Linked DNA regions of Homo sapiens: regions 1, 2, 3, 4, 5 and 7 are each linked to region 6. The links are contacts of gene promoters, found by promoter capture Hi-C in blood cells and fetal thymus (Javierre and others, 2016). All regions are on one chromosome and are shown on one strand. The core of a region is centred on a gene start or on the middle of the fragment in contact, and the rest is flanking DNA. Distances in the headings are between cores, read along the strand shown.

Evidence for each region. The method cuts DNA at HindIII sites, captures the fragments that hold promoters and counts their contacts. A CHiCAGO score of 5 or more calls a contact.
Region 1: a contact is called between a fragment that was not itself captured here and the fragment with the promoter of YTHDC2 in region 6, in 4 of 17 cell types (total CD4 T cells, naive CD8 T cells, naive CD4 T cells and 1 more). The highest score is 7.6, in total CD4 T cells.
Region 2: a fragment that was not itself captured here is called in contact with the fragment with the promoter of YTHDC2 in region 6 in 6 of 17 cell types (naive CD8 T cells, total CD8 T cells, naive CD4 T cells and 3 more); the score reaches 7.7 in naive CD8 T cells.
Region 3: a fragment that was not itself captured here is called in contact with the fragment with the promoter of YTHDC2 in region 6 in 6 of 17 cell types (naive CD4 T cells, naive CD8 T cells, total CD4 T cells and 3 more); the score reaches 11.2 in naive CD4 T cells.
Region 4: a contact is called between a fragment that was not itself captured here and the fragment with the promoter of YTHDC2 in region 6, in 9 of 17 cell types (total CD4 T cells, total CD8 T cells, fetal thymus and 6 more). The highest score is 9.6, in total CD4 T cells.
Region 5: a fragment that was not itself captured here is called in contact with the fragment with the promoter of YTHDC2 in region 6 in 6 of 17 cell types (naive CD4 T cells, activated CD4 T cells, total CD4 T cells and 3 more); the score reaches 9.8 in naive CD4 T cells.
Region 7: a fragment that was not itself captured here is called in contact with the fragment with the promoter of YTHDC2 in region 6 in 10 of 17 cell types (naive CD8 T cells, activated CD4 T cells, naive CD4 T cells and 7 more); the score reaches 11.1 in naive CD8 T cells.

The regions. Positions count from the first base shown.
Region 1 is chr5:112,838,752-112,842,055 of GRCh38, reverse strand. It overlaps APC (APC regulator of Wnt signaling pathway), which reads right to left. Exons shown (of 16, transcript NM_000038.6): 16 at 1-3,304. Among named protein-coding and RNA genes, the nearest start is that of SRP19, 21 kb to the left of the region's middle. The HindIII fragment of the contact is 3,863 bases long and covers 82-3,304 here.
Region 2 is chr5:112,893,633-112,897,421 of GRCh38, reverse strand. All of the region lies in intron 3 of REEP5 (receptor accessory protein 5), which reads left to right. It also overlaps a transcript of SRP19 not described here. Among named protein-coding and RNA genes, the nearest start is that of REEP5, 27 kb to the left of the region's middle. RefSeq lists a silencer at 554-603. The HindIII fragment of the contact is 631 bases long and covers 1,320-1,950 here.
Region 3 is chr5:112,940,813-112,944,534 of GRCh38, reverse strand. No RefSeq gene overlaps it. Among named protein-coding and RNA genes, the nearest start is that of REEP5, 20 kb to the right of the region's middle. The HindIII fragment of the contact is 985 bases long and covers 1,743-2,727 here.
Region 4 is chr5:112,858,283-112,862,111 of GRCh38, reverse strand. It overlaps SRP19 (signal recognition particle 19), which reads right to left and starts at 825. Exons shown (of 5, transcript NM_003135.3): 1 at 695-825. The coding sequence starts at 735. RefSeq lists enhancers at 528-827, 928-1,007, 766-1,060. The HindIII fragment of the contact is 291 bases long and covers 2,433-2,723 here.
Region 5 is chr5:112,878,231-112,882,369 of GRCh38, reverse strand. It overlaps REEP5 (receptor accessory protein 5), which reads left to right. Exons shown (of 5, transcript NM_005669.5): 5 at 3,535-4,139. The coding sequence ends at 3,584. It also overlaps a transcript of SRP19 not described here. Among named protein-coding and RNA genes, the nearest start is that of SRP19, 19 kb to the right of the region's middle. The HindIII fragment of the contact is 1,702 bases long and covers 1,768-3,469 here.
Region 6 is chr5:113,512,139-113,515,886 of GRCh38, reverse strand. It overlaps YTHDC2 (YTH N6-methyladenosine RNA binding protein C2), which reads right to left and starts at 2,193. Exons shown (of 30, transcript NM_022828.5): 1 at 1,805-2,193; 2 at 525-615. The coding sequence starts at 1,991. LOC124901046 (a long non-coding RNA gene) reads left to right here and starts at 2,229. Exons shown (of 2, transcript XR_007058905.1): 1 at 2,229-2,456; 2 at 2,947-3,748. RefSeq lists a silencer at 1,708-1,937 and enhancers at 1,890-2,391, 2,388-2,437. The HindIII fragment of the contact is 3,291 bases long and covers 212-3,502 here.
Region 7 is chr5:112,958,065-112,961,881 of GRCh38, reverse strand. No RefSeq gene overlaps it. Among named protein-coding and RNA genes, the nearest start is that of DCP2, 17 kb to the left of the region's middle. RefSeq lists an enhancer at 1,596-1,890. The HindIII fragment of the contact is 1,819 bases long and covers 1,189-3,007 here.

The DNA of each region.
Region 1 (3,304 bases), core at 764-3,263, 670 kb after region 6:
TGATCAGGTGTAAGATGAAATGGTGATCCCAGAGAGATTCCTGATTTCAGGGAAAGGATGGAATCTGAATCAGACGAAGCTTGTCTAGATAAACATGCAGCAGCAGCAGCTTGATGTAAACTACTTACTATGGAATTTGCACCTTCCTGAATAGCTTTCCAATCAAAATTTTCTGAATCAGGGGATAGACCATGTTCTGAATCTGGTCTCTGTATATCTTTCAAATCAAGTGTCAGATCTTCACCTAATATGCCACCCATATTTCTGGGACTATGTTTTTCATTATCACCCTTGAGTCTTGAAGGCTTTTTCTTTTTTGGCATTGCGGAGCTTATACATTCCTGCAACAGGTCATCTTCAGAGTCAATACTAAGAGAACTGAGAGAACTGTTTCTTGAGAAACAAACTGGGGTATCTTCAACATGAAATGATTTAGGAGCATAGCCTGATGCTTGAGGTTTACTTGGTTCTCCCTGTGAGTCAGGGGGCTCAGTCTCTTTGATAGGTTCATTTTCTTTATTGTTGTTTTCTTGGTCAATGTCACTGAGAGAACTCAGAGAGGAATTATGAGAAAAGCAAACCGGAGTATTTTCAATAGCAAAATTCTGTAACTTTTCATCAGTTGCTGCCCCTCTGTCTGGTATGTCTTTGGATGACTGGGGAAAAGTGGATTGTTTCTGAAGTATGGGTTTAGGCTGACCTCGATTTATTGGCTGCTTTGCAATAGCTTGTGTCTTATTAGCTGATTGTTGGTTGGAGGTTAGTTCTGTGTGGCTGGTAACTTTAGCCTCTGATTCCTTATTTTCTTTTGCCTTTCTTAATTCAGCCTTTTCCCTGGAAAGGTCAACATCATCATCATCAAAATCTAGAGAACTCAAAGAATCATTTCGTGAAAAACAGTAAGGAGTTCCTTCAATAGGCGTGTAATGATGAGGTGAATCAAAAGCAAAACTTCCTCTGACTCTATCTTCATTATTTGGGAGCTTATCATTGAAGACCTTGGAATTATTTTTCAAATTCTGTTTCTTTGAATCTTTGTTGTCTGAGAAAACTCTCTCAGCATTTAAATTATTTTTTGAGTCTGCATTTTTTCTTACACGTGTCCTATATTCAGTATTTTGTGGTATAGGTTTTACTGGTGAAGTTGGTTTCTTTTTCTTACCATCTAACTGATTTTTGTTGGGTGCAGAAGAAGACGCAGATGCTTGCTGGACCTGGTCCATTATCTTTTTCACACGGAAAGGCTTGTGACTTTTCCCTTTGGGCATAGCAGAATTAATGCATTCTGCAAGAATATCACCTTCCTCTGCTTTATTGTCATCCAATTCAGGTATGGTTACAGATGAGGTTTTTCCTCCTTGAGCCTCATCTGTACTTCTGCCTTCTGTAGGAATGGTATCTCGTTTTTCAAATTCACCTGACTGTGCCCCTCCTCTAACTCCTTCTCCAGCAGCTAACTCATTTGGAGGGGATTCGATTGTTAGATCACTTAGAGATGTAGCTGTGGAAAAGTTTATAGGTGTCCCTTCAACACAATACACCCGTGGCATATCATCCCCCGGTGTAAAACTAACATGCTTTTGGGGTTGCAACCTGTTTTGTGATGGTAGAAGTTTGTACACAGGCAGCTGACTTGGTTTCCTTGCCACAGGTGGAGGTAATTTTGAAGCAGTCTGGGCTGGCTTTTTTGCTTTACGTGATGACTTTGTTGGCATGGCAGAAATAATACATTCTTCTAGTATTTCAATATCATCATCATCTGAATCATCTAATAGGTCCTTTTCAGAATCAATAGTTTTTTCTGCCTCTTTCTCTTGGTTTTCATTTGATTCTTTAGGCTGCTCTGATTCTGTTTCATTCCCATTGTCATTTTCCTGAACTGGAGGCATTATTCTTAATTCCACATCTTTCTGTATAAATGGCTCATCGAGGCTCAGAGCACTCAGGCTGGATGAACAAGAAAATCCATCTGGAGTACTTTCCGTGGCAAAATGTAATAAAGTATCAGCATCTGGAAGAACCTGGACCCTCTGAACTGCAGCATTTACTGCAGCTTGCTTAGGTCCACTCTCTCTCTTTTCAGCAGTAGGTGCTTTATTTTTAGGTACTTCTCGCTTGGTTTGAGCTGTTTGAGGAGGTGGTGGAGGTGTTTTACTTCTGCTTGGTGGCATGGTTTGTCCAGGGCTATCTGGAAGATCACTGGGGCTTATAATGCCACTTACCATTCCACTGCATGGTTCACTCTGAACGGAGCTGGCAATCGAACGACTCTCAAAACTATCAAGTGAACTGACAGAAGTACATCTGCTAAACATGAGTGGGGTCTCCTGAACATAGTGTTCAGGTGGACTTTTGGGTGTCTGAGCACCACTTTTGGAGGGAGATTTCGCTCCTGAAGAAAATTCAACAGCTTTGTGCCTGGCTGATTCTGAAGATAAACTAGAACCCTGCAGTCTGCTGGATTTGGTTCTAGGGTGCTGTGACACTGCTGGAACTTCGCTCACAGGATCTTCAGCTGACCTAGTTCCAATCTTTTCTTTTATTTCTGCTATTTGCAGGGTATTAGCAGAATCTGCTTCCTGTGTCGTCTGATTACATCCTATTTCATCTTCAGCTGATGACAAAGATGATAATGAACTACATCTTGAAAAACATATTGGAGTATCTTCTACACAATAAGTCTGTATTGTTTCTTGGTTAATAGAAGAAACTTTGCAAGTGGCAGCCTTTTGAGGCTGACCACTTCTACTCTGTGCAGAACTTGGATGGAGCTGATTCTGCCTCTTGGCATTAGATGAAGGTGTGGACGTATTCTCACTGCTTGAAGACATATGTTCGGTTTTACTGCTTTGTCCAGATGAACTCTTTGAGAATGAAAATGACTGTTTCTGTGATGAAGGAATATCTGTGGCATATTTTAAACTATAATCAATAGGCTGATCCACATGACGTTTCTCTTCATTATATTTTATGCTATAATTTGTTGGTCTCTCTTCTTCTTCATGCTGTTCTTCTTCAGAGTAACGTTCACTATAATTGGTAGGCTTATCATCTTCATAGTCATCTTCTTGACACAAAGACTGGCTTACATTTTGATTAATTCCATGATTAGAACCCACTCGATTTGTTTCTGAACCATTGGCTCCCCGTGACCTGTATGGAGAAACACATTCCTGCTGTCCAAAATGTGGTTGGAACTTGAGGTGTTTATCATCAGTGCTCTCAGTATAAACAGGATAAGTTGTACTTTGATTCCTTGATTGTCTTTGCTCACTTTGTTTTATTTCATCTTCTATTATGTGTT
Region 2 (3,789 bases), core at 386-2,885, 620 kb after region 6:
GTCCTTGTTGTCCTACTGTTTACATTTGTGTGTGTGTGTGTGTGTGTGTGTGTGTGTGTGTGTGTGTGTGATGGGATGTGTTTTATGTAGGGAGGAAAATAACATTTGTAATCCTACATCTTAGAGTAGTCTTCCTATTTTTTAAAATGTGCAAATATATTGGTCTGTGTATATAAATAAAAACAGAACTCTGTGTGTATGTGTATATATATATGTATGTATTGCTGTCTTAACATATGTGTGGCTTAGATCACATATGATATATAATTCTGTGTCTTGCTTTTTTCAATTAACACAGTATTCTGAGTATTTTCTCATGTTATTCAGTATTTTTTGACATAGCTATCTAATGTTATTGATAATTTACCTACTTCCCAATTGAAAGACATTGAGGACATTTGTCATGCGATTATACATAATGCTGCAATTAATATCTTTGTATCCTCTGTTTACCTTCATTTAAATCATTTTCTAGATTTACTTTACTTTTTTTGAGACGGAGTCTTGCTCTGTCGCCCAGGCTGGAGTGCAGTGGCGTGACCTCTGCTCACTGTAACCTCTTTCCCAGGTTCAAGTGATTCTCCTGTCTCAGCCTCCCGAGTAGCTGGGACTACAGGTGCACAACCACGCCCGGCTAATTTTTGTATTTTTAGTAGAGACGGGGTTTCACCATGTTGGCCAGGCTGGTCTCAACTCCTGACCTTGTGATCCACCCACCTCAGCCTCCCGAAGTGCTGCAATTACAGGCGTGAGCCACCAGGCCTGGCTAGATTTATTTTTAGAACAAGGTTGAGTAAACTCTGGCAAGATTAGGTCCTGACCTGAATTGTCACCTGTGCTATTTCACCCATTGACAGAGAATATAACATTTTTCTTTTCTTTTTTCTTTTTTTTGAGATGGAGTTTCGCTATTTCACTCAGGCTGGAGTGGAGTGAAGTGGCGTGATCTCTGCTCACTGCAACCTGTACTTCCCGCATTCAAGCAATTCTCCTGCCTCAGCCTCCCAAGTAGCTGGGATTACAGGTGCCCACCACCACGCTAGGCAAATTTTGTATTTTTAGTAGAGATGGGGTTTCACCATGTTGGCCAGGCTGGTCTCAAACTCCTGACCTCAGGTGATCCTCTTGGACACCTCAGCCTCCCAGAGTGCTAGGATTACAGGCGTAAGCCACTGTGCCTCGCAACATTTTTCTTCTTAATGTTCGTAGGAGGCTAAAAAGACAGGGAAATCTTTCCTTTAACACGTTCTTTTAAGCTTTTATTTGTGCATGCTGAGCAATGTAGCCTGTAACTATTCTGTGGCTACACTGCAAAAGCTTTCTTCTGACATTAACTCTCAGTTCCGTAACTGCATGTTAAGCATACCCCTACCTGGGAAATATCTCTTCTGGGGGAAAATCACATGGTGACAGCATTAGAAGCACAGACGGAATAGAATGGCCTGTTGTAATTCGTAATTTAAGGAGTCATTGTGTCAGTGCTAATAGTGCCAAGAGTCCAGTTAAAATAGCATGGACTCTGTCTGAACTGCAGGCAGCAGTGGGCTTGTGAGTCTCCTTGGGAGTATCATCAGCTGGCACTTTGAGGGCAGCTTGATTGAAAAGAGCCAGATCTGTGTGGGTGACTTTAATAAACTCAGGCTATTCCTGGGCTGTAGAATAGTTACACAGATTAAGAAGAGAGGGTTGTAAGAGGTGGCAGCTGAATATCACCTTGGGAGTTGAACAGTAATTAACTTTATTTTTAACATAAGAAAATGATTTCATTTCAGAACAGGAAAATGCTAAGGATGTAGCTAGAGAGCAGTAATTATTTTACTGTCTCAAGACAATAGCTAGAGGGTACCAGAAAGTAGTCAATTAACAGTCTGCAGTCTAGCCTACAAAGTAATCACATTGAAGAGGTACAAAACTGTGGACACTTAATTCATCCAGAAAAGATAATAAGCTTGTCTGGATTGCTGAAGGGTTGGCATCTACATAGGCAGGTAATATTTCAGAGATTTTCCACAATAAGAACTTTAGGATTTGGTAATACTACTATTCTATTGTACACTTTCTTCAAGTACATTAATTTGTGACTTTCCTAAAACTCTGCAGAAGAGAAAACTGTCTCTTAGGTTGATTTGCCTAAAGTCATAAAACACACCCCACCTCTCCTGATTTTTTTTTTTTTTTTTTTTTGAGACAGAGTCTCGCTCTGTCGCCAGGCTGGAGTGCAGTGGCGCAATCTCAGCTCACTGTAACCTCCGCCTCCTGGGTTCCAGTGATTCTCCTGCCTCAGCCTCCTGAGTGGCTGGGACTACGGGTGCCCACCACAATGCCCGGCTATTTTTTTTCTAATTTTAGTAGAGACAGGGTTTCACCATGTTGGCCAGGATGGTCTCGAACTCCTGACCTCGTGATCCACCTGCCTCGGCCTCCTAAAGTGCTGGGATTACAGGCGTAAGCCACTGCGCCCAGCCCCACCTCTCCTGATTCTTAATCCAATGAGTCATTTTCACTTCACCTTAATGCTCTGGTTTTAATATGGACATCTGTCTCTCTCTTGATAATCCATTTCTGAAAATCAGATATTCTATGTAGGAATACATTCTATGCAGAAGCTTATTTTCCACTATTTTAAGTGGGAAAAATTTTAATGTATTACATGTCAATGTAAAACTCAACGAATTCACTAAGTATTAATAAAATACAGCAAAATACCTATATATAACAAATATCATGTTAGGATGTTAGATGCTAAAAACACTTGCTGCTCTCCAAATAGTTAATATAGTAAGTAACAATTGCTCTGTGTGCAGGAATACATAGCACATCCCCTGTGATGCTCTGCATATTCTTCAAAATGTCCACCAAGGATTCTGATATTCTGTCAAAAATGTTACTCAAGACATTTCCTGCATATCATAATGTTGTATTGCATTTTGGGGATGTATAGCTTTTCCTATATAAGCAACTACAGTAAAACATTGTATGAATTTTGGATATTAAAAACCAAAAGGCAGCAGGGTGCAGTGGCTCACGCCTATAATCCTAAGCACATTAGGAGGCCAAGGTGGGCAGATCACGAGGTCAGATCAAGACCATCCTGGCCAACATGGTGAAACCCTGTCTCTACTAAAATACAAAAAATTAGCTGGGCACGGTGGCATGCGCCTGTAGTACCAGCTACTCGAGAGGTTGAGGCAGGGGAATCACTTGAATCTGGGAGGCGGAGGTTGCAGTGAGCTGATCACGCCACTGCACTCCCGCCTGGCAACAGAGCAAGACTCCGTCTCAAAAAAAAAAAAAAAACAAAAAAAACCAAAAAAACAAAACCAACCAAAAGGCTTCCACAGGGAAATAACTAGAGAGGTGGTCTTGCAGGGTCTGCTGTAATTAACTGGCACTATGCCAAGGAAACAAAGCTAATGCCAGTGAAAAATACAGTCATTTAATTCTCCATTTTGGGTCAATGCAAATGCGTATCTCAAAAAAACCAAGGTTCTGAACCTCTGGCAACATCTTATAATTCAGTAAGATCTGCTGCTGGCTAAACTTAGGGCATGCTAGAGCAGAGTTGCTGGGAAAACTAAGAGTAACATCGAACTACTTGCACATACTGAGGGTACCTCAAGGCGCTGGCTTCCTTGGAGTGCTTGGACCTTTAACAGAAGGTCTTAGTCTACCATTGTGTGTGTGCAGAAGGCTGATTTGAGTTTTTGCATGATTGCACATTCATGCACGTAGCATTACTATCCATGTGTAGCGAGACTACTAGATGCTAGTCTGAGTCTTTACCTTTCC
Region 3 (3,722 bases), core at 986-3,485, 570 kb after region 6:
ACAAGCAGACAAAAACAGCCTTCAAGGCCGGGCGCTGTGGCTCAAGCCTGTAATCCCAGCACTTTGGGAGGACAAGTCGGGCGGATCACAAGGTCAGGAGATCGAGACCATCCTGGCTAACACGGTTAAATCCCGTCTCTACTAAAAATACAAAAAATTAGCCAGGCGTGGTGGCGGGCGCCTGTAGTCCCAGCTGCTCGGGAGGCTAAGGCAGGAGAATGGTGTGAACCTGGGAGGCGGAGCTTGCAGTGAGCTGAGATCCGCCATTGCACTCCAGACTCCATCTCAAAACAAAACAAAACAAACAAACAAAAAAAACAGCCTTCAGGGCAGTAGGCTCCCCTCTAGCCCAGGGTGGGTCCAGAAATGCAGTCCAAGAGCCTAGGCCTGGACTCAGGGACTCTAAGAGCCTTCTTATTTGCTCTACACCCACTGTGGCCAAGATCGTACCTAAGGTGCAAGACAAAGTCCCCTTTACTTTTCCCTCTGCTTTTCTCAAACAGGAGTTTCTTCCTGTAGCCACCACAGCTGGGGATGTGCTGGTTCATACTAAGTTATTCTTTCTTTCTTTTTCTTTTTTTTTTTTTTTTTTGAGACAAACTCTCACTTTGCCCCCTAGGCTGGAGTGCAGTGGCTTGATCACAGCTCACTGCAACCTCTGCATCCTGGGCTCAAACAATCCTCCCACTTCAGCCTCTAAAGTAGCTGGGATTACAGGCACCCGCCACCACGTCTGGCTAATTTTTGTACTTTTTGTAGAGATGGGGTTTTGTCATGTTGCCCAGGCTGGTCTCCAACTCCTGAACTCTAGTAATCCGATCACCTCAGGCTTCCAAAGTGCTAGGATTACAGGTACGAGTCACCACGCCTGACTTAAATTATTCTATCATTAAAAAGTTTTCATTTTTACCCCAAATGAAGCTTTTCATCTTAAATTTTATTCGTGACTCATGCCTGTAATCCCAGCGCTTTGGGAGGCTGAATTGGGGGGATCACTTGAGGTCATGAGTTTGAGACCAGCCTGGCCAACATGGCAAAAACCCATCTCTACTAAAAATACAAAAATTAGCCAGGTGTGATGGCGGGTGCCTGTAATCCCAACTACTTTGGAGGCTGAGGCATGAGAATCGCTTTAGCCTGGGAGGCAGACGTTGCAGTGAGCCGAGATCGTGCCACTGCACTCCAGCCTGGGTGACAGAGCGAGACTCTGTCTCAAAAAAAAATAATAATAATAATAATTCTATTCATTTGCTGTTAATTCCATTATGTTATTAGCATTTCTGCGTACTCTTTTTTTTATTAGTATTTGATTGTTATATTTTTCTTTACTTTTATCTTGAAATTTCTGGATGGTTTTAAGTGGGCTCCTTGAACTATTTACACTATTGTTTGCTTGCTTGTTAATCAAATGAGATGATTTTTATCTATTAGTAAATGAATTCTATCTAATAAACTTATATAGTCAGTCATCCTGGTATATTTAAATTTATTTTTACCATCTAATTTAGGTCTTTGCTTTACTACCCTTTTTCTTTTTTTCTTTTTCTCTTTTTATTCCTGTTGCTTCTTTGGGACTGATGAAATTTTCTATATTCTTCTTTCCTTCTTTGTTGGTTTTAAGGCTATGCATAGCATTTCTATTTTTTTTAACATGAATATCTCTACATTTTTCCTATAAAGTCTCCAATTACATACACAGTGTTTTTTCCTTCTCCTGAACAAGACACAAACCTAAACAAGCTTTAATTACCTAGTAAGTACTTCCACATTATTGTTTTTATTTTTAATTTATTTTTTTGAGGTGGAGTTTCACTCTTGTCGCCCAGGCTGGAGTGCAATGGCGCAATCTCAGCTCACTGCAACCTCCACCTCCCGGTTCAAGCAATTCTCCTGCCTCAGCCTCCTGAGTATCTGGAATTACAGGCATATGCCATCACGCCCAGCTAATTTATATATTTTTAGTAGAGACGGGGTTTTGCCATGTCTGCCAGACTAGTCTCGAACTCCTGGCCTCAGATGATCTGCCCGCCTTGGCCTCCCTAAGTGCTGCGATTACAGGCGTGAGCCACTGCACCTGGCCCCCATATTATTTTTAACCCTCAAATTATTTTTTATATTGATAGTTAATTGTACTTACCAACTTATCAATTTCTATGCTTTTCATGTTTGCTTACATCTAATTTTTTCTTCCTGGGTTTACTGTTCTTCTAACTGAAGTATGTCTTTTTAGTAGATCTTTCACTGTAGGTCTGTGGTTAGTAAGTTCTCTTATTTGTATATATTTGTTTTATATATTGTACACCTAAAGATGCACTTTCATTAAGCATTTATTCTGTCTTTTCTATACAAAGTAAGCAAGTAGAAGTAGAGAAGTTTTCAATTTCTGATGAATTAATGGATCAGTGGTTGCCAACATCACACAGAGAGAGACAATCAGTTATTACATATTTTCTACAAGTCACCTACAAAGGAGTCTAGCCTGAAAATTGTACCTGAATCTGATCAAGGCCATAATCTCACTACCAATTTATAGAAAATACAGAAAACAGACAAGTGTAAATTACATGGGAATGCAATCAGCAAAATACAGATGTGGGAAACTCTACAAGTCAGATAAAACAACCCAGTTTCTTTCAGAAGTAAGTTGAAAAAGGTGGGGCAAAGGGGATTGAAGGGGTAGGTAAAAGAGACTTAAAAGATGTATATAGTTAGAAGGAAAATTAAGCTTCAGAGTTTAGAGGTGCATCATGGGCGACAGAACTATAAAGAAAGCAAGAAAGCAATGAACATAAAACTCAAGATGTAGTTACTTTCAGGGGAAAAGGAAAGGATTGGGATTGGGACAGGGTAAATGAAGGACCTCTCCTGTGGCTGCAGAGTGGACCCCATTGGGATACAGCAGAGAATGAGACCAAGGCCCAGCTCTCAGGGTGTTTACACAATAGGAGAAATAAACCAATAAATGAATAATGCAATGTCAATTAGTGATAATGGAATATAAAACATAGTTGACCCCTAGCCTCCAAATAAGTGCCAGCCGAGTTTCATTCTTAACACAGAGTACATAGAAAATATAATTACTTGATAAGGTCAATAAGAAATCAGCTTTCACAATATATTATGGCCAATTAAGAGGAAAAAGTAAAGAGAAAAGAAAAGAAATGAAGAGAGAAAAAGAAATAGGGGCATAAAAAGCAAGTCCAAACATAGAAGAGAAAGACACCCACAAAGGCATAAAAACACCCACATCCATAGGGCCAGAACTTTATGGGTAAAATATTTTATTATAGCTACAAATTCATCACTCTATATAGATATAGGGGCAGGTTGTCTTGGAGCTCTCATCTTCAGTTATTTAGTCAAGGTCTAGAGACTGTGCCAGACTTGATCATTCCAGCCCCAACACTTCCCTAGGTTTGTTCCCTATTTAGGTGGTGGCACATTATAAGTACATTTCAGACTTTTTCTGAAAGCAGATATTATAAAGAAAATGAGTGTGGGAGTAGAAGAGTATTCATCCTCAGAGGAAAAAGGACACTGAAGGGGCTGTAGAGGTGCCCAAGTAAATGCTCCAGTTTAGCCACAACTCAATCTACACACCATGAAGGCCCTTTTTCTTGCAGCCCTGCAGACTAACAAAATGGATGGTAGAGAATGCTGACTGTGCATAGAAGGCTTTCTCCCCGTGTTCACCTTGGAAGGGTCATTTATAGCTCAGTTCC
Region 4 (3,829 bases), core at 1,329-3,828, 650 kb after region 6:
GCTTTGTGTGTTTTGTTCAATTCCTTATTCAAAACGCCAAGAACCTGGACAACTACACTCAACAGATAACAAGTATTTTCAAAAATACATTCTTTCGGTCCGTGGTAGTCGTCATCATTGCTGGTACACCTATGCTATTATTTGCTTAATGTTATTTCTTTAAATTACCTCACTTTAACTTATTTAAAAATAAACTTTATCCACTACCTTGGATGGAAAAAAACCACAGGAATAGAAACAAAACGACTTGGGTAACTGTTACATTAGACAGAGCAGCCCGTCAAAAGTTCCTGAGAATGGGCCCGCCCTCTTATATAAAGTGTCCGAGGTATTAAAAACCTTAAAATTTCACAAATGAGCCTTTCTGAACGCAACAATACTTAAAAAGAACACATTTCTCACACTGTGATTATATTACTTGATATCATGTCCACGTAGCACCCAAAATCCTTGTCTCGCGTACAGATAAACACTAGGCTACCTATGGTCGGAATTTCAGGAGCCCTGAGAAGAGCCTGGTGGCTGCTGCAGGATTCAGAAAAACGAGCTGCCAGGGAGAGGCGCGGGGCCCGTACAGAGCGAGTTGGATCAGCTAGGCCATTCTGGAGGCCGCGGAGCGGAGAAGCGCGGTGTAGCACCTGCAGCACCACAGCAAGCCCCTTCCTTTCGGAGGACCCACCGCCTCAGAACCCACCTGTCCTGGTCGGCCGGGGACCGCGCGGCAGCGCAAGCCATCTTCACAAGAGTCTCAACAACCCAGGAGCCGCAGGGAGAAACCCGGCAGAAACCCGGGAGGAACCCGGCTCTGAGTTTCCGAGACAGCCCGCTTTTCCGCCGGAAGTCCTGCCCAAGAAATGGTTCCGCGTCCGCGATTTCTCATCGCCTGTTTGTTCCGGCACCTGTCGCTCGGCGCCAGGATCTCTAGTCTCTGACGTGGCATGAAGACTTCCCTTCTCGCGAGAGAATCATGAAAGCTTCTCATTCCTTTCCCAAGCCGGGAAGACCATGTGGGGCGCATGCACCGCCACTAAAAAGGGTTTAACTTCGACCCTCCCTCGTTTCCAGTTTCTCAGCGAGTATGGGTGGTACTAGCTACTCTCTGTTAAGGGGCGAAGACTGTGCCACGAGGGGAATCTGTGTGGTTCAGGATGCAAATATATGTTAGACAGGGAAGGAAATACTCCTTACGTTTAATTTTTCTCCGTTCCTGGGCTCTAGAGCTTGCTTTCAGTTTGGCAAAATGGATTTTTGTAGTGGTAGAACTAGCAAAGTTATAGACGTTGTGTTTCAGTGTGCTCTGCGTTAGAAACTTAGCTATTCACCTTTTAGGCCGGGTGCGGTGGCTCACGCCTGTATCCCAGCACTTTGGGAGACTGAGGCAGGTGGATCATGAGGTCAGGAGTTGGAGAGCAGCCTGGCCAACATGCTGAAACCCCGTCTGTACTAAAAATACAAAAATTAGCCGAGTGTGGTGGCACACGCCTGTAATCCCAGCTACTCGGAGGCTGAGACAGGAGAATCACTTGAACCCAGGAGGTGGAGGTTGCAGTGAGCTGAGATCACACCACTGCACTCCAGCCTGCGTAACAGAGCAAGACTCCGTCTAGGAAAAACGAAACAAAACTATTCACCTTTTAAAACTTCTGAAGGATACCATGTGCCATCACTACAGGCATACTTCATTATTGCACTTCACTTGCTGCTGCGAGTAGATACTGCCTTTTTACAAATGGAAGGTTTTTGGCAAATCCGCCTGAAAGAAGTTGCTTGGTGCCATTTTTCCAGCAGCGTATACTTTGTGTCACATTTGGTAATTTTTGCAATATTTCAAACCTTTTCATTATTTCTGTTATGGTGATCGGTGATCAGTGATGTTTGCTGTTACTATTGTAATAGTTTTAAGGCCGGGTGCGGTGGCTCACGCCTGTAATCCCAGCACTTTGGGAGGCCGAGGCAGGTGGATCACGAGGTCAGGAGATAGACACCATCTTGGCCAACATGGTGAAACCCCATCTCTACTAAAATATAAAAAATAAGCCAGGCATGGTGGCACAGGCCTTTAGTCCCAGCTACTCGGGAGGCAGGGGAATCTCTTGAACCCAGGAGGTGGAGGTTGCAGTGAGCCAAGATCACACCACTGCACTCCAGCCTGGCGACAGTGCAAGACTCCGTCTCAAATAATAATAATGTTTTGGGGCACCATGAACCATGCCCAGATAAGATGGGGAACTTAATGGATAAATGTTGTGTATGTTTTAACTGTTCGACCAACTGGCCATTTCCCATCTCTCTCCCTCTTCTGGAGTCCCTATTCCCTGAAACACAACAATGTTGAAATTAGGCCAGTTAGTAACCCTACAATGGCCTCTAAGTATTCAAGTGAAAGGAAGAGTCACACGTCTCACATGTCAAAAGATGGAAATGATTAAGCTTAGTGAGGAAGGCATATGTAAGCCAAGATAGGCTGAAAGCTAGGCCTCTTGGCACCTAACAGCCAAGTTGTAAATACAAAGACAAAATTCTTGAAGGAATTAAAAGGAAATTACTTCAATAAACACACAAATGATCAGAAAGCAAAACAACCTTATTGCTGATATGGAGAAAGTTTTAGGGGTTTGGATAGAAGCTCAAACCAGTCACAACATTCCTTTAACCCAAAGCCTAATCCGAGCAAGGCCCTAACTCCCTTCAATTCTGTGAAGGCTGAGAAAGGTGAGGAAGCTTCAGAAGTGGGAAGCTAGTAGAGGGTGGTTCAGGAGGTTTAAGAAAGAATCCATCTCCATAACATATAACATAAAAGTGCAAGGTGAAGCAGCAAGTGCTGATAGAGAAGCTGCAGCAAGTTATCCAGAAAATGTAGCTAATATCATTGACGATGATCAATGATTAGCTAGTATCATTTAGTGGCTACACTAAACAACAGATTTTTCAATGTAGACAAAACAGTCTTCTATTGGAAAAAGATACCATCTAGGATGTAGCACCCAAAATCCTTGTCCCTTTGAGAGAAGTCAATGTCTGGCTTCAGAGCTGCCCCATTTAGTGGCTACACTAAACAACAGGTTTTTCAATGTAGACAAAACAGCCTTCTATTGGAAAAAGATGCCATCTAGGATGTAGCACCCAAAATCCTTGTCTCTTTGAGAGAAGAAGTCAATGCCTGGCTTCAAAGCTGCCAAGGACAGGCTGATTATCTTGTTAGGGAACAATGCAGTTGGTGATTTTAAGTTAAAGCCAATGGACATTTACCATGCAGAAAATCCTAGAGACCCTAGAATGATGCTAAATCAACTCTGCCTGTGTTCTCTAAATGGAACAACAAAGCCTGGATGACAGTACATCTGTTTACAGCATGGTTTACTGAACTATTTTTTTGAGACAGTCTCGCTCTGTCACCCAGGCTGGCATGCAGTGGCCCTATCACATCTCACTGCAGCCTTGACCTCCCACACTCAAGCAATCCTCCTACACAAGCCTCCTGAGTAGCTGGGACTATGGGCTCATGCCACCATGCCTGGCTGATTTTTATTTTTATTTTTAGTGGAGACAAGGTCTTGCTATGTTGCCCGGGCTGGTCTTGAACTCATGGGGTCAAGCAATCCTCTTGCCTCAGCCTCCCAAAGTACTGGGATTACAGGCGTGAGCCACTGCACCCAGCCTTTACTGAATATTTTTAAGCCCACTGTTGAAAACAACTACTCAGAGAAAAAAAAAAGAGATTCCTTTCAAAATATTACTGCTCATTGACAATGCACCTAGACCTCTAGACATCTAAGTTTCTGATGGAGATCTAGAAGGAGATTAATGTTTTCATGCCTGATAACACATC
Region 5 (4,139 bases), core at 1,369-3,868, 630 kb after region 6:
AGAACTCTGAATCAGGATAATAGCGGGAATACTCCATCATCATCTACAATGAGCAAAAAAGCAGGGTGGGGAGTGCACTACAAAGATAAAAGGTGATGGTGGCTGAGTGGGATGCTTGATACAAGATTATGGAGGGACTGCAGTATTGGTACTAACAGGGATCCTGGGAGTCAGTGCCATATGTAGGGTGGAATATAAGGGTTATTGGAGGGGAGGAACTAAGAGGTCAGGATATTAGAAGATCATCACATATGTCTACATGGATATTAAAATCATCAATAATTAAAATAGGAGTAGTAGGTCAGGTGCAGTGCTCACACCTGTAATCACAGCACTTCCAGAGGTCAAGGTGGGTGGATTGCTTGAGCTCAGGTGTTTGAGACCAGCCTGAGTAACATGGTGAAACCCAGTCTCTACAAAAAAAAAAAAACACAAAAATTAGCCAGATGTGGTGATGCGTACCAGTAGTCCCAGCTACTCAGGAGGCTGAGATGGGAGGATCACCTGAGCCTGGAGGTTGAGGCTGCAGTGAGCTGAGATGGCATCACTGCATTCCAGCCTGGGTGACAGAGTGAGACCCTGTCTCTAAATAAATAAATAATAGGAGTAGTGTTAGAAAGGAACATTAAGTTAGGAGCTAAAATCTTCAAGAACTAAGGCAAAGTAGCCCAAGAGTCAGGGATGACAGGGAAAGGGAAGGCTACTCAGTGATAGAATCTGATGACATGAGATTCTGAAAGTGGCAATGAAGAACAAAAACAACACCTACCAGATCCATTTGTACTAGGGTCATGAGAGGAAAGAAACAGCCACCACTTGAGAAAGCAGTGTCCTCAGGGCACAGCCAGCTTTCTCTAAGAGCAAGAAGGTAAAGGAAACATTCGGAGGAATGGATGAGGATATAGATTTTGCCAGTGATGGGTCTTGAGTTCCAGAGGGACTCAGATTTTAGAAATTGGAGAAAGGTTTTTGTGTTTTAGAGCTCTGTGGTAGTTAGACATGGGAGTTGTGAGGTTGCCTGACCATGGGGAAGTAAAATCCCAAGACAGTTCTCCAGCAGCACTGATGCCCCAGAAGTGGTATGTTCCCCATTTCTCCCTCACAGACCTCTCTTCTCTGGACTCCTATTTTTGGGCATACAAATCCAGTCTACTTGAATATGTTTTAGGTATTTTTTAACTTGTAGCCTTAACCTCCTCCCACTTTAGGATTGCCAGCTTTTTTTTTTTTTTTTTTTTTTTGAAACAGAGTCTCACTCTGTTGCCCAGGCTGGAGTGCAGTAGCATGATCTCAGCTCACTGCAGCCTCCACCTTCCAGGTTCAAGGGATTCTGCTGCCTCAGCCTCCCAAGTAGCTGTGATTACAGGTGTGGGCCACCACGCCCAGCTGATACTTGTATTTTTAGTAGAGACACCGTTATGCCATGTTGGCCAGGCTGGTTTCAAACTCCTGGCCTCAAGTGATCCACCCACCTCGGCCTCTCAAAATGCTGGGATTACAGGCATGAGCCACCATGCCCAGCCAGGATTACCAGCTTATTTTTAAGAGCTTTCTTTTCTTCTCCCTTCCCTTAGCCTAATCAGCAACCTGTGGTGATGTCATTTCTGTCTACTTCACCCACATTTCTTAGCCTCTTGGTTCTCTTAGATATCAATACTTAAAATCCAATCTTACTTTGTTATGACACATTCCTAAATAGGGGCAAGAGAATTAAAATAAGTTAGGAGGAATTTACATGCTGCCACATTTTAGACTTTTCTCAAAGCTTTTGGATTAACTAGGAATTTCTACAAAGGGTTAGTTAAGGGAAGGACTACATTTTCTCCTTTGCTGTGAACTTGGTTCAGTAATTTTAACTGAGCAAAGGGAGAGCAACTATCAGGCAGCTGGTGGACAAGAAGGGACTCCTTGGCTCTCATCACTAAGGCTCTGGCTCCATCAAGAACAGCTGCAGATTGTAAAATCTCACAGTGGGCCCTGGAGGCTTCTAGACAACCCCTTTCCCCTCCATCTTACACACTGTACTGGTTCTCATAGCACATTCCCTGCCACTTGGTAATTAGAAAGTGGAAGGCTTGGTCTCCTGCAGAAGTAAGAAAATATATTTTTCTTTTTTTTCTATAGAGATGGGCTCTCACTGTGTTTTGGCCAGGGTGATCTCAAACTCCTGGCTTCAAGGAATACTCCTACCTCAGCCTCTCAAAGCTCTGGGATTATAGACATGAGCCACCACACCTGGACAGAATGTTTTCTTGATGAATGTAGTGTCTTGTCACCAACTCAAAGACTTAGAGCAAACTCTTCTCATCATAGGAGAGAATGGTGGCACAATAAGAGTATAAATACAGATTTTAAAAACAATTTAGTATAACAACAATTTATATAGCATTCATGTTGCATTAGGTACTTTAACTAGAGATGGGCTTTTAAAATTTTTTTAAAATAGAGGTGGGGGGTGGGGGTCTCACCATTCATATTGGCCAGGCTGGTCTCAAATTCCTGGCTTCAAGCGATCTTCCCACCTCAGCCTCCCAAAGTGCTGCGATTACAGGCATGAGTCATTATGCCTGGCCGAATTTAAAGTATATGGAAGAGGCCGGGCATGGTGGCTTACGTCTGTAATCCCAGCACTTTGGGAGGCCAAGGCGGGCAGATCACGAGGTCAGGAAATTGAGACCATCCTGGCTAACACAGTGAAACCCCATCTCTACTAAAAATACAAAAAAAAATTAGCTGGGCGTGGTGGTGAGTGCATGTAGTCCCAGCTACTCGGGAGGCTGAGGCAGGAGAATGGCATGAACCCGGGAGGCAGAGCCTGTAGTGAGCCGAGATCGCGCCACTGCACTCCAGGCTGGGTGACAGAGCGAGACTCCGTCTCAAAAAATAAATAAGTAAATAAATAAAGTATATGAAAGCACATAGGTTATATGGAAATACTATGTATGCCATTCTATTTAAGGGCTTGAGCACTCACAGATTTTGGTATCTGTAGGGTTCCTGGAACTAATCTCCTCTCCCCCACCGCCCCCCCAGCCCCCCCCCCCAAACACATATATCAAGGGATGACTGTATTTCTAGTGCTGGGAATGAGGACTTCTCTGATTTGTCGCCATGGGATAAATATGATGACCTAGTTGTCATCAGATTGATAATATATTGATAAGTGAAATCTTACAGGCAAGCACACAGATACAAATAGAATTTGAACACTACTCTTAAGGAATCTCTGCTTCTTTCAATGCTTAAAGGAGAATAGAGGGCAGACAGTTTCGGTGACACTGTCACAACAAGGGGCTAGGCTAGATGACCTTCAAGTATTTTGCTCAAGTATTTAGGATTTGTGCTCTAAGAGGTACCTTCTCCATTTCCTGGAAACCCTCTTAGCCCAGACCACAAACCCCAACATGATCGCACCTGAACATGAGTCATCCAAGTTTTGTTATCTAGTAGCTACATTAGGCACAAAGCTTGCAAGCTTGCATTCCAAAGAAAGAGCTTTGATATATTTTTCTTTCCCTCCTAACAAACAAACAGCGAAGAAAGCTACCGTGAATTTACTGGGTGAAGAAAAGAAGAGCACCTAAACCAGACTGGATGGAAACTTCCTGCCCTCTCTGTACCTTCCTACTGGAGCTTGATGTTATATTAGGGACTGTGGTATAATTATTTTAATAATGTTGCCTTGGAAACATTTTTGAGATATTAAAGATTGGAATGTGTTGTAAGTTTCTTTGCTTACTTTTACTGTCTATATATATAGGGAGCACTTTAAACTTAATGCAGTGGGCAGTGTCCACGTTTTTGGAAAATGTATTTTGCCTCTGGGTAGGAAAAGATGTATGTTGCTATCCTGCAGGAAATATAAACTTAAAATAAAATTATATACCCCACAGGCTGTGTACTTTACTGGGCTCTCCCTGCACGCATTTTCTCTGTAGTTACATTTAGGATAATCTTTATGGTTCTACTTCCTGTAATGTACAATTTTATATAATTCTGAAATGTTTTTAATGTATTTGTGCACATGTACATATGGAAATGTTACTGTCTGACTACAACATGCATCATGCTCATGGGGAGGGAGCAGGGGAAGGTTGTATGTGTCATTTATAACTTCTGTACAGTAAGACCACCTGCCA
Region 6 (3,748 bases), core at 944-3,443:
CAACCTTGCTAAAAGAACACATATCTTCCATTAGTTTCCCCACATATACCTTCCCACAATTTACTGCACCTACAAGTTCAAAGTCCTTTTCCTTTGTCTTGTCATTTTTTAAATAAATTCATTGTTCTTTATTAAGATGCCACATAAGCCCCATGTTTGAGTTACTATCGAGTTCTCCCCTATGTATGCATGATGCATGTCTTAATAAGCTTATGTTTTTCTCTTGTTAATATGTCTTTTATCAGTCTAATTTGCAGGGTCCCAGCCAAGGAACCTAAGCTGGGTAGAAGAAAAAGCATTTTCCTAGGGAAAAACAAAACAAAACAAAAAAGGGGGGAAGAGGTAGACAGAGGGAAGAGGAAAGAGTTGAATTTGGTACAGACCTGAATCTTTTATCTACATATGATACAATTAAGAATGTGAAGTTAAAACAGTAATAAGTACTTAAATGTACTCAGAAACGTTTCTCCCTTTTTTGGGCAAATAATCTTTTTTAAAAAAAATAAGAAAAGCTACCAGCTTACCCTTTACTTTTAGAGACCAAACCAAGAGACTGACTGAGTCGATGAATAAAGGCTCTTTCAGTACTGGTCAAAGAAGAAGGAAATTCCATTTCTACACGGAAAAAAAACAAAGTAGTAAAATTTGTAGATAGGCAATTTTCTCTCAAGTAAAACACACAGATACAAAATATGAAAAACATACATAGACAATCAAATTTATTATACTTTATTTGAGGTTAACTTTATATTTCATATTCTATTTATGTAAATTAATAAAATTAAGATATTTTATTAATTCAATAACTACTGAATGTCTATCAGAATTCTGATATTAATAAAAAGACAGCTATGTATTAAACCTAAATGTGATAAAGGCCTCTGATATTCACCAAAAACGACTCCTCTTACTTGTTCTGGAATTTTGAGTTGGTATAATGACTGAACATATTTAACTTGGTCCCTACTTGTTTAGTTAACAAAATGTTTATTTTCTTCAATGATGAGATATGTTCAAATATTATGAATTCTCAACATGAAACTCCATTGTCTTTGCTTTCAAAACTGTACAGAATTCGTATTTCACTATTTCAGAGGGATTTGTTATATATTGCTGAGGCTTTCTCTTTTTTTAATGTGAATTTAGAATCTCTCTGTCTAGAACATTCCCCGTTTTGGACTATAAGATTCCAGAGTAAGAGGTCCCCTAACTAAGCCAGCAGGTCCGAATGAGCCCTCAACAGACTGCACAGGTCACCGCAGGTCAGTTGCTGGTTCTGCATTATATGACCCAAGACAAGTGGCTATCTAACCTCAAGAGGTGTGGAAGATGCTTCGTGTGCCAAACAAGTTTAATTTAAGTGGGTAGCGTGATGCTTCAGGGTCCAAACGTATTGCTGGTGCATTTATTTATATGTTTGATTTCTTTCTGCTCTTCTACATCTGTAGCTTAAACGTGCCACAATTAGGTGACACCCCCTTAAAAAGGGTTAGGGCTAACCAATATCTGAAACACGGTGGCTTAACCGCCCAAGGCTGCTGAAAGACGCGGGGGAAAAACACTTTCAGCTAGGGAGCAAAGTGCCCATAACCCCATTGATCCGCAGAGCACCTCGCATTCCACCGCAGGGCCAACAGCCGCGTTCCAGACCCGGGTGCCGCCGCTGAGGCCCGCCCCGGACGGTGGCCCGGGTCTTCCCTCCCTCTTCGGAGGCACCCCCATCACTCGGTGGGCCGCCGTTTGGGGGGCGCTGGGGTGAGGGGGGTATCCTGACTGCCAGCATGGTCCCTGTCCGGAACCTCACCTCTCTGGTCCCCGTATCGGAAGCGCTCCAGCGCGATATTGACTGCGATCTTCACCTCCTCATCAATGCGAATGTCCTTCAGCCCCTTGGCCCGGCCGCCGCCCCCAGGGCCACAAGGCGAGGGGCCGCCGCCTCCGCCACCGCCAGGAGCCGGCTGCCGCGGGGAGACGCTGCTCGGCCTGGACATTGCCCTGAAGAGATGGTCTCTCCGCACGGGAGCGGCCAGGCCTGCTAGCTGACAGCCAATGACAAAGACCGTGGGAATCCGGGGCCACTACCGGGAAGCTCCGGAGACGGCCTGTGTTGGGCTGAGGTCACCAGAAAGGCCTCAGTCACCGCCACAGCAGAAGTGAAGCCTGCGCCATTGATATCACGGCCAGGCGAGGAGCGCGGGCGTAATGACGTCACCAGGGCCGGCGCCCGTGACCTCAGCGCGGCCGCCGCTGCGCGCCTAAAGGAGGCTGTCTGCGGAGCTATGGTGCGGTTCTCTTCCCGCGCCGCCCACCAAGGGTCGCTCCTCATCTTCTTATTCACTCACTTGCTACTTCGTTTAGTCCTTCATTAATTCCTGCAGTAAGCATGTATGGGCTTCTACTGTGGACCTGGCATTATGCCACGCCTTCGATGTACATTGGAGAACCAGAGAGCCAAGGTTCCTACCTTCATGGAGTTTATATTTTAGTGGGAGGAGGGTTGCCAGATTTAGCAAATAAAAATACAGAATGCTTAATAATTTGCATTTCAGATAAACGAATAATTTTTAGTGTATATATTTCCCATGCAATATTTGGAAAAATATCATAAAAAATACATATACTAAAGAATGAGCCACTGTTGTGTGTCTTGCATTCTTCCCTTTTCTGAATGGGAGATTTTAATGCAAGTATGCCACCCTTGCTCTATCACGCTACACAGGGTAGCTGAGTGGGGGCAGGTATGTAGTACATATTTACATAGTTCATGAGTTACCTGGCAATGAGGATATACATCTGGATCTAATAAAGAGGACTGTGTATCAACAACAGATCCTGGATGCAGTGACTAGATAGAATTCCAGGTGTCTGGGGAGGGTATATGTGTATTCTGTGTGTGGTAAGAAGGGGGCGGAATATTTGGTGACAAGAAGTATCTTTTCTTCCTAGGCATTATATTTCCCAACTCTCCTGCAGTTAGCTGGGGGCCACATGGCTGAGTTCCGGCCATTGGAATGTTGCTGGAACTGATGTATACCACTTCCAGGATTGGTCTATAACACCTTCCTTGAATCTTCCCTTCTCTGTCTTTCCTGGTCTTCTGGAAGTTCTTAGACAACGGTGGAACCACTAGATAGATAACAGGTTCCCGATTCCCTGAACGAGTGTGATAGAGTGTCCTCACCAACCCACATTGGAATATGACATGGGTAAGAAATAATTCTTAGTTGTGGTAAACTGCTGAGATTTGGGAAGATTTTTTTTTGTAACATTATGGTAAATTGTTGAATTCATCAAAGGTATGGCCTTTGATGAATCACACATTCCTCTGTTCACACCCTTGTATTCTTCCTTCCCACATGGACTCTGTCTTTGGCTATGTAACTTGCTTTGGCCATTGGGACATCAGCAAATACGAGATAAGCAGGGGCTTGAAAGGTGTTTGTGCATTAAGGCTTAGCCTGTTTTGCTGCTGAGAATTCTTCTTCCACAAAGTAAAGAAGCTTAGGCTAGCCCACTGACAACTATGGCCCAATCATCCACCAGCACCAAGGGCAAGACGTGAAAAAGGCCATAATGGAAAGTCTAGTCTTAGAAAAGCTGCTGGATGACCACAACTCTGTAAGCAACCCAAAGCAAGATTAGCAAAACCACCTAGCTAAACATAGTCCAAACTGTTGACCCACAGAACACATAAACAAATAAAATGAATATTGCTGTAAGCCACTAAGTTTTAGGTTGGGTTTCTTAC
Region 7 (3,817 bases), core at 849-3,348, 550 kb after region 6:
TATTTTGAGAAAATTGTAGAAGAGAGATCTTCCTACAACTGGATATGAATTTTCTCAAAATAGAAACTTGGTATATACTTTACCCAGTTTTCCGCAATGGTAACATCTTGCAAAACAGTATCACAACCAAGATATTGAAATCAATGCAGTCAAGACACAGAACATTTAATTACCACAGGTTCCTTCATGTTGCCCTTTTATAACCATTTTCTGTCTGGGTGTTCAATATTTACAGTATATTCCAAATGAAAACTTTTCTATGACTTTTACATGCCTTCCTCTTAGCTTTACATAGGAACTATGAGCAACTGCTTAAAATTACTGAAACCTATTTTTTCAGAGCTCTCATACATACTGCCTGAATCTATTTTCTGATATGATCCTAAAATTATATTGACTAAATCTTAGGAGCCATAGATAGACTACCAAAATATCAGCTGAAATAAGGGCTTGAGAGCAGCAAAGAGGGTAGTGAAAAGGCATCCTGGTCCTCCAAGATCAAAGCAGCACAGTGGGTTCCAGGCCAGTCAGTATTACAGAGCCCTTGACTGGCAAGTCAACAATATGACAGACACCATCACTGGGAGCTGCCCTCTCCAATGTCCAATCTCCTCCCTCCTCTCAGTTAAAGGCCTCATTTAAAAGCCTACATGTCCTTGTCTGTCTCACGGCCATATGCTGCTAGATGTGAAACTGCATTTGGCCAAGGAGATACAAGCATAACGGTGGTCTAGAACCCTTGGGAAGTTGTTAAAAGAAAGCAGAAGCCTCTTTTCCACCCCTTCCTCTTTGTCCCTTCCTGTCGCCAGCAATCGGTAACCTGAGCAGAGTAGCAAAATAGAACTCTCTGGTCCCTGATGACCTTGGAGCCACTAAACCAGCTCTGGAGTGCCTATTTCTAGAATTCTTTTACTGAGCGAGAGAGAGAAATAAATGTCTACTTTGTTTAAGCGATGATACTGGTTTTTTTCTGTTATATGTAGACAGTAGTCCAAACTGACATAAGTAATCCTCTCCTCATGTAGAGGCAAAGGTAGTTCTCAGTTAAGGCTTGAGAGTGCACTTTTCTTTGGATAAAAACATTTTAATAGGCCCTTTTAGCATACAAAATTAAAGCTCCAAAACTATTACAGACAGAAGAGTTTGAGACAATTGAAGGTAAACAGCTCTGAAGAATGATGCGAAGCTTTATCTTCCTCTGAGCAGAGTTGAGGCACTGCAGAAAGAGGATTATGATGTTGGAAGAAGAGAGAAGAAGCAGGCAGGAAGGATTTCCTCTTTCTAGGAAAAAAAAAAAAAAAAGGCTATAGTTGAGGGCCTGCAGCCTGGGTAGGGCTCCAGGTCAGAGAATCCCCATCTGTCATCTATGATTTCAAAGATGCTCCTAGCACCAGAGGCCTAAGGAGGGTGACAGCTGGAAGAGCAGGCCCCTGCACAGATGGATCTAGGAGCCAGAATATCAACATGCTTTCATTTTAAGGGGGATTCTTTTTCCTTTTCTGAAAAGTAATTTTCTTTGCTAAAGTCCAAGTGCAGTGAGCATCTGCCTCTTTAAAAAACAAAAAACAAAAACCAAACAAACAAAAAAACTTCTCAGCATTCATTTTCTCTCTGGAAGCATAAAGCTGTTTTTCCTTCAGGAGCAACTCCTCCCCCATTCTCATTCATGTACTCTGAGTGGGTTTGATTCCTCATTTCTAACCCCTCCACCCTCACTCCAACCTCCAAGAGCACTTGTCACCATGATTATTTAAGAAATAAGCCAGGAGGCCAGGCATGATGACTCACGCCTGTAATCCTAGCACTTTAGGAGGCCAAGGCAGGTGAATCACCGAAGGTCAGGAGTTCAAGACCAGCCTGGCCAACATGGCGAAACCCCGTCTCTAACAAAAATTAGCTGGGCATGGTGGCACGTGTCTGTAATCCCAGCTACTCGGGAGGCTGAGGCTGGAGAATCACTTGAACCAGGGAGTTGGAGGTTGCGGTAAGCCGAGATCCTGCCACTGCACTCCAGCTTGGTGGCAGGGTGAGACTCTGTCTCAAGCAAACAAACAACAAAAAATTATAGTTCGAGACCAGCCTGGCCAACGTGGCAAAACCCCGTCTCTATTAAAAAAACAAACAAACATTAGCTGGGCGTGGTGGCACACACCTGTAATCCCAGCTACTCAGGAGGCTGAGGCTGGAGAATCACTTGAACCCAGGAGGCGGAGGTTGCAGTGAGCCGAGATCGTGCCATTGCACTCCAGCCTGGGCGACAGAGCAAGACTCCGTCTCAAAAAAAACAAAACAAAACAAAACAAAAAACAAATACTAAGTCTTATTCATTCTATAGAGATCACACTGCTGCACTCCAGCCTGGGTGACAGAGTGAGACTCCATTAAAAAAAAAAAAAAAAAAAGCTAGGAACCCAAGCCAAATTGCCAAAGACCCAACATGAGGATGTCTTCTTAACTGATTGGAAAAGAAATGCTTCTTCTTTCTGTTGGGCTTGCTAAAGTGCTAGGAACATAAGCCTGGGGATTCCAGTGCTTTCTCTGCTACCACTCAGGAAAGCCTGCATAAGAATGAAGCCAAAACAGAAGAAAGCAGGAGAAAGAGATGAAGAGAAGCCACTTTCTGTTTCTTTTCTATTTTCTTTTTCAAACTCCATTACTCTGAGTAATGGAGTAATTTCTTATCTTACTGTTTGAGCCCTAGAATCCAACCGAGCCTCAAACTACATATATTCCCTGGATCTTTCATTACCTTAGCCAATACATTCTCTTTTTTGTCATTGTTGTTGTTCTTTAAAACCAGTTTGAATAGAATTTTTGTCTCTTGCAACCAAGAGTCCTAACTAACACACTAAGTCTGCTCTCACTATGTTTTGGGGGAGTCAAGGGAGAGGTCTGTACCTACATTTGGAATACATGGTTATTAGGAAAGCAAAGAAGCATTAAAAAAAAGTGATGAGAGCAAAAGATGATTGGCAGGACGGTAACCTTGGAAATAGAGACAGAAGCTTAGACCCTGCTAATTTGGCACAAACAAGAATGGCCACCAACACTTAGAGAAGTTGAGAACACTCTGATTTACAATAATAAAATTGATATATCATGAGCAAAATATGCTATCTGCAGAAAACTGTCTCATGGGTCCAAGGGGGAAGAGTTGAATTAGACAGTTCGCTAACATTATTTGCATCTTTAAAAAAACAATGAGTCACCAGGGTACACAGGGAAAGCCTGAAAGAGATCTGAGCTGCAGGGTTTGGCACTGCGCCTCAAGTCCCACAGACTAAAGAAACACTGAGTAACCAACTTAACCATCTGCTTGGCAGTACTTCCATATAATGGCTCTAATAGGACCTTTAACCTTGAAAATCACTCAGCTTAGGCTTCATTTCAATTCAACACTTTTCAAGCAACCCTGAGATTACATTTTTATATCCCATGTAACTTTCTGTCAGCACGACTAAGCACCCTGCAAAAGAGATGGAAACAGTCCAGATCAAAAATATTTGAGAGACTGGAAAGTCAAACTGCACCCTGGAAGCCAAGTACAAACAGCACATGTAGATGGTCTTAAGCAGAATCAGAATTTTGGGAAGGGATGCGGAATTGGAATGGAAGTGTGGGGTAAGGAGACCACACTGTCCAAGTCAGAGACAGAGTAATAAAAGATCAGGTTGGAAATGAACAAGATTTTGGCAACTGTTCTGATTAAACTGGGAGGGTCTGCATCTGGCCTTTGCTGGCTAGTGGCCTCTGAGGGATGGATTTGGTTTAAGGACAGAGAGCCAGGTGGCCAGCAACAGGGCCAAGAAATTTCTTT